Regions from separate parts of the Homo sapiens genome. Here region 1 is linked to region 2. Evidence: promoter capture Hi-C in human tissues and cell types (Jung and others, 2019). All regions are on one chromosome and are shown on one strand. The core of a region is centred on a gene start or on the middle of the fragment in contact, and the rest is flanking DNA. Distances in the headings are between cores, read along the strand shown. Region 1 holds the start of KRT17 (keratin 17). Region 2 overlaps LOC124904002 (a long non-coding RNA gene).

Region 1 (6,201 bases), core at 143-2,642, 510 kb after region 2:
GGAGTCTGAAGGGCTGAAAGGTGCCTCTTCTTCCCCCGATACTCAGTACCCCACCAGACCCCCATGGCAGGCTCGGCCTTAAAGGAGAAGAGACAGCTGGCTGGGAGTATGAGGCAACCAGAAAAGAATGGGAAAATGTCCCCAGGGCAGAAGCTGTCCCAGAATTCTAGAACAAGGGAGGGGATGTGGGCAACCCCCTCGTTTTACAGTCAGCTAGAGGGTGCCCCTGACAGGCTCCCCCAAAAGGAGGCTAAAGGAGCCCTCATTAAAGAGTGGTTCCAAATCAAAAGTCAGGACCCCTCCTAATCCCTAACCCTGGGCGCCAGCCAGCAGCCCCGCCCCCTGGGGTTTGCTGAGCCCGTCTTAAGGGACAGCAGGAGGAAAGGAGAAGCCAGAAAAATCCCCAAATAAGGCACATCAGAGGCCTTCCCCACACTGAGGTCCCGCCCCCTCCTTTCTGCCTCCTCCTGCAGCAGGTGCTATCAGGAGCTCACTCAGACACCCCCACTCCACATCACCCAAAACCCCCTCCTGTTGACCCCTGCTCCAAAGGAGCAAGACACCACACATCCAGCAGCCCACGGGCCCAGCCCTCCATCTGCATCCTCCTGCCTCATCCTACAACCTCTCCAGGTGGCGGAGCTCCACGAGGGAGAAACTGAGGCTCCAAGGGGCTCCACAAGGCCTCTTTGTTCCTGACTCAGCTTGCTGTCCCCAGAAAAGGGGGATGTGAGCCACACAGGGGCCCCAAGGCAGGTTCCCAGAAGCTAAGCCACAGCCAAACCACCCTTGGCTCCCTGAGACCCTATGGCTGGACTCCAGGCCTTTGGCCAAGGCAGGAGTTGGGGGGAAGAAGTCATGCCCCCCGGAGACCCCTCCCACCAGCAGGCCCTACCTTGTTCTGCAGCTCCTCAATTGTCCTGTAGTACTGGCTGTAGTCACGGGCGGGCCCCGGGGCCTGCCTCTGGTACCAGTCACGGATCTTCACCTCCAGCTCAGTGTTGGCCTCCTCCAGGGCACGCACCTTGTCCAGGTAGGAGGCCAGGCGGTCATTGAGGTTCTGCATGGTGGCCTTCTCACCTCCAGCCAGCAGCCCATCAACACCCCCAAAGCTGCTGCCATAGCCACCACCAGAGCCAAAGCTGTAGCAGCTGGAGTAGCTGCTACCCCCGAGGGTGCTGCCCAGGCCGCCAGCAGATCCCAGCCTGCAGGAGCCGGCACCCAGGCCGCCAGACAGCCGGCAGGAGGTGCGGGACGAGCCGCCCCCCAGGCCGGAGGAGCCCTTGATGGAGCTGGAGGAGGTGAACTGGCGGATGGAGGTGGTCATGGTGGCGGCGGCAGGAGGCAGGCACACAGGAGAAGGGCTGGAGAGGAGAGGGGCCCCAAGTTGTGTAGGGCTGCCGGGGTTCGCCCGCTTCCTTTATAGGCCACCAAGTGGGCGTAGCGATTACAACAGGCTTGCTCCTCTGTTTCCATTCCCCTGGGCTTTCATCACCACTGGCCACCTGCCAGCTCCCAGGTGGCTGGGGGCCCCCTCCCCGCCCATCATCAGGAATTTGCCTCATTTCTCCAAATCCTCGTGCTGAGTGCCGTGCGTGTGCGTGCCTCTGGTCTCAGGCCCGTCACCTGTGATTCAGGCGGGCCCTCCAGCTATGCTTTCCCATGACCTAATACGGAGAAGAGGAGAAGGCAGGACGTCACCGTCCCCAGGCCCTCCCAGGCAGCCACCACCCCAGCCTGGCCCGCCTCAACCCTGTCTGGTGGGGAAATGGGTTGCAGTGTCAGCTGACCCCCCCGCCAAAGTTGCTGTCTTTCACCCCACACTGCTCCACCCACGGTGCTGGCCCCGGGGCTGGGTGCTGAAGAGAAAGAGGAGACCGAGAGCCTATCCTGCCTTGGAAACTGAGCCCAAACCCACCAGGCCCACCTCACAGCATAGAAATGCCATCAAGCCTCGGAGACCAACCCACATCACAGATAAAGAAATTGGGGCTCCAGAGGGGTGCCGTGTCCACACTGGCCCCTTCTGCAGAGCCTGACACCCAGGAATGCACTCTAGGGGCTACAGTTCCATCCAGTCAGCTTCTGACCCTGCCCCATCCCTAGAAATCCTTGCTAACCCAGTCTCTTCGTGTAAACCTTTCCCCAGGTTTACACTCCAGGCTGGGGTGGGCAAACAGGGGCTCAGCTATAGGATGGGGAAATGGTGGGCTGTGCCAACTGAGAGGGGGATGCCCCCTTCCACTCCCCTCACCCTTCTGTACCCCAAGAGACCTCAGGGTCAGGTGACGGGTATTTATCTCAGGTCTCAGCCCACAGGAAACCTAAAGGACATTGCCCAAGAAGAGGCTCTTACAGAGACCCCAGCCAGCCCCCTTCCCACTCCAGGCTCCCCAAGATGTGGCTCCTCAGGTGGGCCATGTGCCCCACCCCACAGCCCCACCCTGCCCTGCCCACCACCCCAAGCCCGGCCCTGGGTCCCAGGGTCCCGCCAGGCCCGCTGGGTGGAATGTGGTCATGTTTCAGACTGCCGATGGCTTCCACTTCCCAGACAGGCCCAGACGGCCCCGCCAGCAGCCGAGAGACATTCCTCAATAGCCCAGTGGCTGCCAAGCCACCAAAGCAAACAGGATGCCCCCTACGCGTACACGCACAGCGGCCACCCCGCCCCACACACACCCCGAGCTGGGGCAGAGCCGGTCTGGTTTCCTGGGCTGGCTGCGTCACTGCCATGCCCTCTCACTCATCAATGCCATGGACCACTCCTTCAGAAGCCCCTCCCCACCAAGCCCCTCTCCTTCTGCTCTTGAACCCGCCCTGGGCTGAGGCAGGGAGTGCTCCCCAACAGGCACCATCCTTGGAAAGTCTGTGTGGCCCTCCCAGGGACCAGCCACAGGTGACAGGGACTCAGGGGCTGATTCTTAGAAACTTTTCCCAATACAAGGGGCTGTCCCATCCCTCCACCCTTAATCTTTCCGCCTCCTCCCCTCTCATCTTTCCAGGAGCCCCAGGCCTGGATGGAGTGGGCAGAACAGATTGGCAGGTGACAAGCCCATACCCAAACACTCAATAAACTCCACCTCCCCCAGTCCCTCAGCCCACACTGCCCCAAACCAATGAGCAGATCAGATCACACGAGGCATTGAACTTGGAGCAAAGCTTTAATAGTAGGCACTGGACAAACCCAGGAGGCCTCCTCAGTGAGGGGCTGCAGAAAGTAGATACAGAAAGACAACAGGCCATGCACCGGGGCCCAGACGGACACTCGGGGCGTGGCAGTAGCATGCTGGGAGCTGGAGCTGATGGCTGTGCCGTGGCCCTCGAGGTGGGGCTGTCGCAGACAGAAAGGGGTCTCAGTGGGTGGAGAAGTGGACCTGCTCACAGAAGAAGACCACCTCTCCAACCTGGACTTCCTCCACGATGGCACACCTGGTGGCTGGTCACTGTGGCTGCAGGCGATGGAGGAGGGAGGCACAGGGAACATCAGGCAGGAGCTCTTCCCCCCGCCTGCCCCCGCGTCTGTGGTCCCCCCAGTCTCCCACACAGAAGGGTCCTCAGCCTCTCCCCTGCCTTGGGGTCCACACCGCAGGACAGGGCAGCTTCTTACCTTCCCGGGTGGGCTGCGAGGCCAGGGACAAGGAGTACTGAGTGGCCAGCCTGCAGGGAGAGAAGCACCCATCAGCCCAGGGATGCCAGCCAGCCCAGGCACCTGCAAGCACTGCTGGGGAGAAGTAGGCCCTGGCAGAGGAGGTTCCCCTAAATTGGTGAAAAATCACAGTTGGGAATGCACAGAAATTAGCGCAGGCCCAAGAATGAAAGGGCAGGGGTTCAGCACAGCAGGAAGAAGAAAAAGAAACAGCACAGCAGTAGGTCTGGCGGCACTCTGTGGCTACTCACCAGGAATTTACAAGGAGAAGCTGAGCAAGTGGTTTTTCCATAACCCAGAGGGCCCAACAAATAGACCCAATTAAAGCAGGAGAGACTGTTGTTAGACTATAGATGGACTTCACCATTTCCGGGGAGCAAAAAGCTGCAACGTGTGACTAAGCATGGAGACTCCGGGACACTCTCAGCTGAAGGCCTGATCACCCTTCCCAACTGCAAACCCAACCACCACCCACCTTGCTCTTCACCACTCACACAGTCATCAGAACCAGAAACCCAGGGCCATCAATGCCTGCTCCTTCATGTGTTCTCCCGACACTTACTGAGTCCTGACTGTGAGCCATGCTTACCCCGAGATCCAGGCATCCAGTCCCGCTGTTTTGAGCTATAACCTCTCTTCTGCGTGCACCACCTTCCTTCCCCTGCCCCACTACCCACCACCGCACGGGACTTCTCTGGCCAGACTCCCTGCTCCAGCCCCCTGACACATCTCTCTGGCCCCGCCCTGACCCCTCTGATCCATTTCTCCCTCTGCAGCCAGAGTGAATGTTCTAAAATCTCTTGATGTTCATTTCACTCTCCTGCTCCAAATCCCTCCATGGCTCCCCATTGCCTACGTGATCTAGTCCAGACGCTTTAACTTGGCATTCAAGGCTCCTCAGCCAGACTCCAGCCTGCATCGTCAGTATCACCTCCTGCAAACCCCAACAGGTTCCGACATTCACACCTCCTGAATTTCGCTGGTGCTCAGACACCAACTTCTCCCTGGGTGAAGCGGGCCCCCAGCCCACCCCAACAGGCACCCTGGTACACACTCACTGGGCGTCCTCAACCTCCAGCAAGCGGCGGTAGGTGGCGATCTCCTGCTCCAGCCACGTCTTCACGTCCAGAAGGACCTGTGCTTGTGGTCCTGGTGCTCCGTGTCGCAGCAGAGCTCGCACAGCTGCTGCTCCATGCTTCTGTTAAGCCCCTGCAGCTGGGCCGGCAGGGTCCTGTAACACACCTCCATCTCCACCAGGCTGCCCTCCAGCGATGCTTTCTGTGGGCCAAGAGATAGGTGGTGTGATGAGCTGGACCTGGGACCCTTCCCCATGGCAGAGCACTAGAGAGGAGCCCCTCCTGTATGGGGCTGTGGGTGCTGCCAGCACAATGAGGTGGTAGTGCACCCAGCCACTGAGTGTGAAGGGACAGGCTGGGTGGGGACTCTGGTTCCCCAAGCAGGGGTCTACAAGGCTGGGCTCACCCTGGGGTGACAGGTACAGGGTGGGGAGGGGACAGAGACCCTACCTTGCTGAGCTGGGACGGCTCAGGTTCTGCACAGAGACGTAGAGCTCCATATCTCTATCCAGCCACTCTGCAGGGCCTCTGTGTTGGTGGCCACCTCGCAGTTCAGCCCCTCTTTCTGGAAGGCAGAGTGGGCCACAGGGGTTTATGGAGACTTTCAGAAGCGGGGCACAGGAAAGGGCTGCTCCTGAACCCTCACCTCCCAGAACCATCCCCTAGCCCCTCCCTGGCCTCTATGGGGCCCCAAAGGCACCTGCACACAGAGAGCCTCTGCACCCACATTGGAACTTGGAGGAATTCAGCCTGCTCTGCGGTCATTTGCATTTCTTTTTCCTACTGAACTGCAGCACCTCAAAGACAGGCACTGGGTGTTATTCTTTTGCGCCTGTTGCTGTCCCTAGGATACCGGAGATACTCAGCCTGTGCTTGCCAAGGGTATACATATGTATTCAAATACGCACATCCTGTAAACAGCTGTGGTGGAAACCCAAGACCAGACTTGTAGAGACCTGGATCTATTTTGCAGGCCACAGTGAAGGGCTGTGTGAGCTTGAGTCCTCTCTGAGCCTCACGTTTTACATCTAAAACATGAGGGGCTGGTCCAACTGGTTTCCAAAAGTCCTTCCAACTGGGACAGCCTGTGGATCTGCCAGTGCTCCAGCTGCACCAGCATGCAGCACATGTGCCCACACGTGTACACACCTGCTTACGCACGGCCACCCACCATGCTGAAGAACCAGCCCTCGGCATCCTTGCAGCTCTTCTCCACCAATGTCTTGTCCTGGTCACGCATCTCATTCAGGATGCAGCTCAGGTTCACTCCAGGCACAGTGTCCATCTTCACACTGACATCCTCATCCACCTGACCTCAAAGGACGTTCATTTCCTGGGCAGAGAGGACAGCAGAAGCTCACCCAAGGCCATCCTGGAGAAAGACCCTGGGGCCTGCCTTCTTTCCCTCGGAGAGACAGGTACAGATGACAGACAGACAGACACAGATAGGCCAACAGCTCCTCACCCTGAAGGTGGAGG
Region 2 (6,415 bases), core at 1,260-3,759:
CTTTTCTGCCTGCTTTAAATCTGCTGTTATTTTTCTATTAAGATCAAAACCACTGTTTGGATACAACAGGCTTTTTGTTTGCAACCTGGTGAATTTGTATTTGTCTCATGGCTAAAGTTCTGAAGTAAAAGCTATAGGATTTCTGTGTGTGTGTTTGTGTGTGTGTGTGTGTGTGTGTGTGTATCTATTTAAAAGGCCTTTATAATTTTTATAATTTTATGTTTAATTGGCAATTAAATCCATTTTGACTTCCCTCTAGCACCACCAGACTTTTTCTCTCTGTACCTTATGATATAATTTTGCTATTTGATTTTTGCCTGAGTTGTTTCCTTTAACATGCAAACTTAAGGCTATTTAGCTGACAACTCCCTAGGGGAGTAAAACAGGTTATTAAGAATTTGAAAGCCTAAGATAGGGGAAAAAAGCTCCTTAAGTATCTATACGATGTACTTCTATCAGCATGCCTACTATGTCTATATATTTATGTGATGTGTACACAATTTCTCGCTACTGAAAATATATAAAAGAGTTCTAATTAATTGGCTTAAGATAAAAAGCACTTGAATCTAATACTTTATCAGGAAAAAAGAAAAGACTAGTTGAATGCTTTCTGAAGTTTATGTAACAAGTAAAATCTTTAATAAATAAGCTAGCTTTAAAATTATTGGTAAAGTAATATTAGACATGTCTTAAAAATTGCCAGCATGCATTTTTGTTTGCATTTATTAATCAAGCAATTTCATGCTTATCCCTGTCAAATACCATAAGGTGTCAAAATTTGCCATGGAGTTACAAAACTGTAATAGAATGATCTTTGCTTGTATAATCTTTAATAAATAAGACATTGATATTGGTTTAATAAAAATAGTCACATCTTGAATTTAGTGAGATTACTGTAACTTCTAATTTTGTGGTTTTGGTGGTCTAGTCCACAGGCAGTAAGATTTAGTTTGAGAATGAACTGTTATAATCTTTGTTTCAAAGGTAAACTATAAACTATGTTCCTCTCAACGTCTGTTCAGCCTGTGCCCAGGATTGAACAAGAACAGTTTGGAGGTTAGAAGCAAGATGGAGTCAATTAGGTCAGATCTTTTTCACTGTCTCAGTTATAATTTTGCAATGGCAGTTCCATAACTTTAAATGATGACTATTGCAGTTTTCATAAATAATCTAGGTAAACAATTCCTTTTTAAAAAGGTGAACAATTGTCATCTAATTCAATGCTTATTTAAAGATTATGTATAAGACAAGTTAAAAGGAACCAGGAAATCAGAGAGATGTAAAGAAAGGTATAAAAATAAAGAGGATAAAGAGGGTTCTTTTTGGTAAGGAAGCTTAAAGAGAAATAATTTCATATGAGAAAAGATCTTGTATGGTAAATTTAGACCTAAAATAAAATGATTGTTTAAGAAAGATGGATGTTCAAAACAAACCAGAAAGTCCAAGCATATCATGAACAGTCTGTAAAAGTCATAATAAGAGGATTAAAAAAAAAACCAACAAACTTTTATATGGTCAAGTTGTCTGTAATTAAAAGGAAATTATAATAGTCTTCCTGAAGATTGGGCTTCATGTAAAAAAAAAAAAGCAATGATAAACAAAATAGTTAGAGCGATGAAATTTTCTTAAGGGATTGATTTACTCTTATTAAATTATAAGAGATTTTAATTTTTTTAACCCAAAGTTCAACTGTTTACTCGCTGTTTTCTCTCCCCTTCAACTCGTTTGCAGCTCATATAAGTTATTTTCCTTAAATTCTATTTGTTATGGTCTGATGCTAACAATGTTTTCTAAAAGTCTAAAGAAAATGTTTTCTTCCAAAGTAATATTCTGTGCAGTGTAGAAGGTCTTTTCTTTTGCCTTTGGGTAATTGACCTAACAGATTTTATGGCTTATTGAAACAATGCTATGCTGTTATTATTAATTTTTGATTTGCTCAGGAAAAAGTATCTGAGATAATTTTTTAAAATTAAGGTTATTACATCCATGTATATTTCTGTAGGTGCTTTGAAAGTACCTGTGACATTAAGTTACAGGCCTTTGACTCCTGGGTCTAAAAAGGACACCAAGGTCTGCTAAATCTTAAGCACTGACAGCAATTAAAACCTCATCTTCAGGCCTGGTAGAAGATGCCAATCAAAATAAACTGCATTCCTGAGACATAAGGCCAGAAGTAAAAGCTATTCAACTCCTCAAGGCTCAGGAACTACCACAGAAGAGGTAGGCATGTGAGATTGTAAGGGCTGATTTTGAGAGACAAAATAAGTTCAGTTTCTCTGCAAGTTAATAATTGATGTCAAAGGCACACTGATGCAATACCAGCATACGGGCCCCTGCGTCAGATTAAAAAGGTTTTCTTGAAGTGTTAACCGACCCCTTAATAAAGGTTATAAAGGTTAAAAAAGGCTTATGGAAGCTGTATCTTATGGTCAAGATTAAAATTTTAAAGATTGATAATAAAATTTCAAAAAACAAATTTAATTGGCTTTATGCTGTTTTATTTGGGCTTAATGTTTGAAAAATTGACTTATTTTATGATGACCTATCAAGTATTTTAAACTTTTGATATTTGGCAAAGTTTCCAGAATCAAATTACAAGTTGTGTATTTTTCTGACCTAATTAATCCTCTAAGATATTAGTTTCCCTAAAGTCCAAAAATGAAATAAATGACTTATTTGGTATAAAAATTATACAGGAAGCATTGTCAAATATAAAATGGTGTTTGGTTTTCTTTGGGCTGTATTTGTATAAAAATGTTATTGGTATGTGCACCAAAATTATGGGAAACTCCTATAATTCTGATATGACATGGTGTACAATATCACTAATAATTATAATTGTTATATAAAATTATCGTGTGCCACAGTGGTAACAAATTTTCTTGTCAATTGTGTCTTTGATTATGGCTGACCTAAAACTTTTTGTCACCCATGGACAATTGTTTTGTTTTAGTCCTTTTTAGAAGATGGTTTTATAATCAGCTATAAAACTCTAACACGTGTTCTTGAAGGCAAGTTTCTAATAACTTTGGAGACTGTGACATCAGAATGGAGGAAAAGCTTTCAGAACTCATGGAGACCTGAAATGTTCATGAATAGCAAGCAGAACAGGAATTAACTGCATGAACTGAACTAATAGAAGAGCAACGTAATCTTTTTGACTTTTTGCTTAAAATGTTGCTGCTCCTTGTTTTCCTTTTTTTAGTCAAGGAAACTTTTATTTGAGCTGTTGTCAGCTTTTAACAAGTTAGTATACTCCTGTGAAAAATATTTGGAGCATATTTGTTTCTCTCTACCTGATTTTCCCCAGAATTGGAAACTATCTGTGAGTATTCTTAACTTATGGCAATACAGTTATTTGCATAAGTGCAATAATAATCTGTTTTCATGTGTAACAAGACACAATTGGAGAAATTGGTCATTTTACCAAGGCTTTGACTGGAATGGTGTGCTCTCCTTTAAGGAATCAAATTTGACTTATGGAGCCAATAAAAGCCCCTTGGGAGAACTGGCCTCATACCTTATCTACACAGTCCCTGTACAGGGTTCCTGACCTGTGGTAAGTAAAGCATGTCACTTTCTAACAGTTCCAGGAGCCCCAAGTTTATCTTGGAACCTCAAGAGCAGAGGAATTCATGCAACTCATAGGTATTTGATGGTACAAATCCATGGCTAGGCTAAGCTTTCCAAAAGTCTTATCCGAAATTCCTTCTATGGAACAAAGTTCTGATAGGGACAGGGGGCTGAGAAATTCTAGGCAGAAAAGGGTAGGTCTCTGACAAAACCCCACCTTCAAGCTGAAAAGCCTTAAACCACGGCCCAAAGTGAGAACTTATATCCCTGTTTTCCTGCTTGAAAGTTGCCTTTTTCTAAACCACTCATGGCTCCATCCTGTCCATCCTATGCCTGTGAAGATGCCAGACTCAGCTGGCAGAGGCAAGAAGCAGCTGGACATTGGGAACTACAGCTGGACGTCAGAGAGAAGCAGCTTGATTCAGAGGGACAGCTTGATGGTGTAATCTTGGAGAAGAATCCAGCTGGATACAGCCTAACTTTGAGGAAGATTACCTACCCACCCCATCCTTTTTCAGCTCCGCTTTCTGCTAAGAGCCACTTTCATCAGCAACAAAATCCCCCACATTTACCATCCTTTGATTGGTTCATGTGACCTCACTTTTCCTGGACACAAGACAAGAGCTTGGGAGCCAGGAGAGCAGATACAAAAGACTGTCACACTGGCCCTCTGCCCTTGCTGGTGGAGGGCAGCTGCCTCACACAAAAAGGCAGAGGCCTCACTGAGCTGTTGACACTTAAGCCATCCATGGAAGGCAGAGTTAAAAGAACACTGTAACATGCCCTCTGGGGCTATGGGGGTCGCAGGCACCCCCACCTAGATGCTGCTGTGGGGCCCACACAGAGTTTGCTCCTGCCGGTGGCCAAAAGCACTCACTTTGGCTCCTGCACTGATTCACCTGCATGCTTCCTCCCACAAGCAGGGGACTGCAGCAGGTCCCAGTGAGTGAAGTTTGATCCTACCGTGCTGCAGTGCCGATTCCAGCACACGTGCACTCCAGTTCCTGCCTCATTTGCTTGCATGCTCGCTCCTGCAAGGAGTTGAGAGTGGCAGGCTGAATAAACGAGGCACCCGTCACAAGTCCCACAAAGGGGTCAGGGAAACATCCTGCTTCAGTTCCATCAAAGGCAATTTAAAAGCTTATGCAAAAAAAAAGTATTACTATGGCTGCGCTGTATACAAATAATCAGGTCAAGTATAATAAAGAAAATCAGCCCTGCCATGATTTGTCTTTAGTAAAAATGGGAAATGGGAGAGAGAAGAATTATGTTTCAAAAAATGATAATACACCTGTTGTTAGATTCTAGTCTTGCCTAATGTTTTCCCATTTTTATTATTTTCTACAGTTTCCACTGAATTCTAATTTTTCTTGGCTACAGGTCTTCAAAAGATTGTTTTCAGTTTTTTTTTCTTCTTCTTTCCCCCATTTTTCCTAATTTGGAGTCACTGAAAACTCATCTGTGCTTTTGTAAAGCCCTGCGAACTGGAGCTAGAGAATTTAAACTTCAGAAGAAAATACCAGCAACCTGTTTACATACATAAGCCACTTTCATACCTGCCTACTGATGTATGGACTTCAGAGTAATGTGGCCCATATTGATTTTCCAGGATTGTTCTTTTGTTTATTTTTGTTTTTCTCCCTTCCTCCCCCTATTTTCTCTTCATAGGACATGAAACTTCACAACCTGCTAAAAATGAACTTTCCTAATAACTCAGGAATTATCTTTCTAGGAATAAACAATCCTAGCCATGAGATATCAGATGAAACTTGAGACCAAAGACTGACTTTCTTCAAAAAGGCTTTCTCAAAAAGATTTTTAAGAAAAGGGGGGAAATTTGAAAGGAAAATAAACCTTGGGGCCCTGAAATCACTAAGGTAAAGGGGAAAGTCAAGCTGGGAACTGCTTAGGGCAAACCTGCCTCCCATTCTATTCACAGTCACCCCTCTGCTCACTGAGTTAAATGCATATCTGATTGCCTCCTTTGGAAAGGCTAATCAGAAACTCTAAAGAAAGCAACCATTTGTCTCTTATCTACCTATGACCTGGAAGCCCCTCCCCGCTTAGACTTGTCCCGCCTTTTCCGGACGGAACCACTGTTCATCTTACATATGTTGATTGATGTCTCATGTCTCCCTAAAATGTATAAAACCAAGCTGTGCTCTGACCACTTTGGGCACATGTCTTCAGAACCTCCTGAGGCTGTGTCACAGGTGTACATCCCCAACCTTGGCAAAATAAACTTTCTAAATAAACTGAGACCTGTCTCCGATTTTGGGGGTTCACAAGGCCATACTGACTTGTCCCCTGTGTGAAGCCCAGCAGGATCCTTTCACAGCAAGCTCTTTTCACTTGAACCTTTGTGCATCAGTGCCTAACTCTTTCACAAGATAAGGGGTCCTACAGAATCGAAGCAGACCCACCAGAGGGTTACAAGTTCCTGATACCTAGTACAACCTGGGAAAGAGAGCAAAAGCCCTTTATTCCTGATGCAGCTTCCCCAATCTCTAGCCAATTTGCACCAAAAGCCCAAGAAACTCCTAACTACAAATTCCTTCCTGGGGTGGGGTGTTTGGGAGGGTGGGCAGGGACTTCTCTGGGGTCCTGCATGCACAGCTAGGATCAAGGTTCAGCTTATAGTAACCATTTCCTCATTTTAATAGTAAAAACAACCACAACAAGAAAAACACCCCAAGGCGGAGATTTCATATGCTAATGATACATGCGATGGGTGTTAGACCACGTGGATCCTGAGCACATGTGCCAACCGCAGGTCTGCCTTTGCATACTTGACCTCACCAGTATTTTATGATTATGTACGTATAGCTCCCATAAAAGGAAT

Evidence for each region. The method cuts DNA at HindIII sites, captures the fragments that hold promoters and counts their contacts. A contact is called where the count stands out against the background at its distance.
Region 1: the fragment with the promoter of KRT17 here is called in contact with a fragment that was not itself captured in region 2 in 2 of the 25 tissues and cell types used here (H1 embryonic stem cells and mesenchymal stem cells).

Annotation. Positions count from the first base shown.
Region 1 is chr17:41,623,183-41,629,383 of GRCh38, forward strand. KRT17 (keratin 17) reads right to left here and starts at 1,393. Exons shown (of 8, transcript NM_000422.3): 1 at 896-1,393. The coding sequence starts at 1,327. It also overlaps the pseudogene KRT42P. The HindIII fragment of the contact is 8,196 bases long and covers 1-5,753 here.
Region 2 is chr17:41,110,195-41,116,609 of GRCh38, forward strand. It overlaps LOC124904002 (a long non-coding RNA gene), which reads left to right. Exons shown (of 2, transcript XR_007065754.1): 2 at 1-2,476. Among named protein-coding and RNA genes, the nearest start is that of KRTAP4-11, 5.0 kb to the right of the region's middle. The HindIII fragment of the contact is 6,500 bases long and covers 1-5,759 here.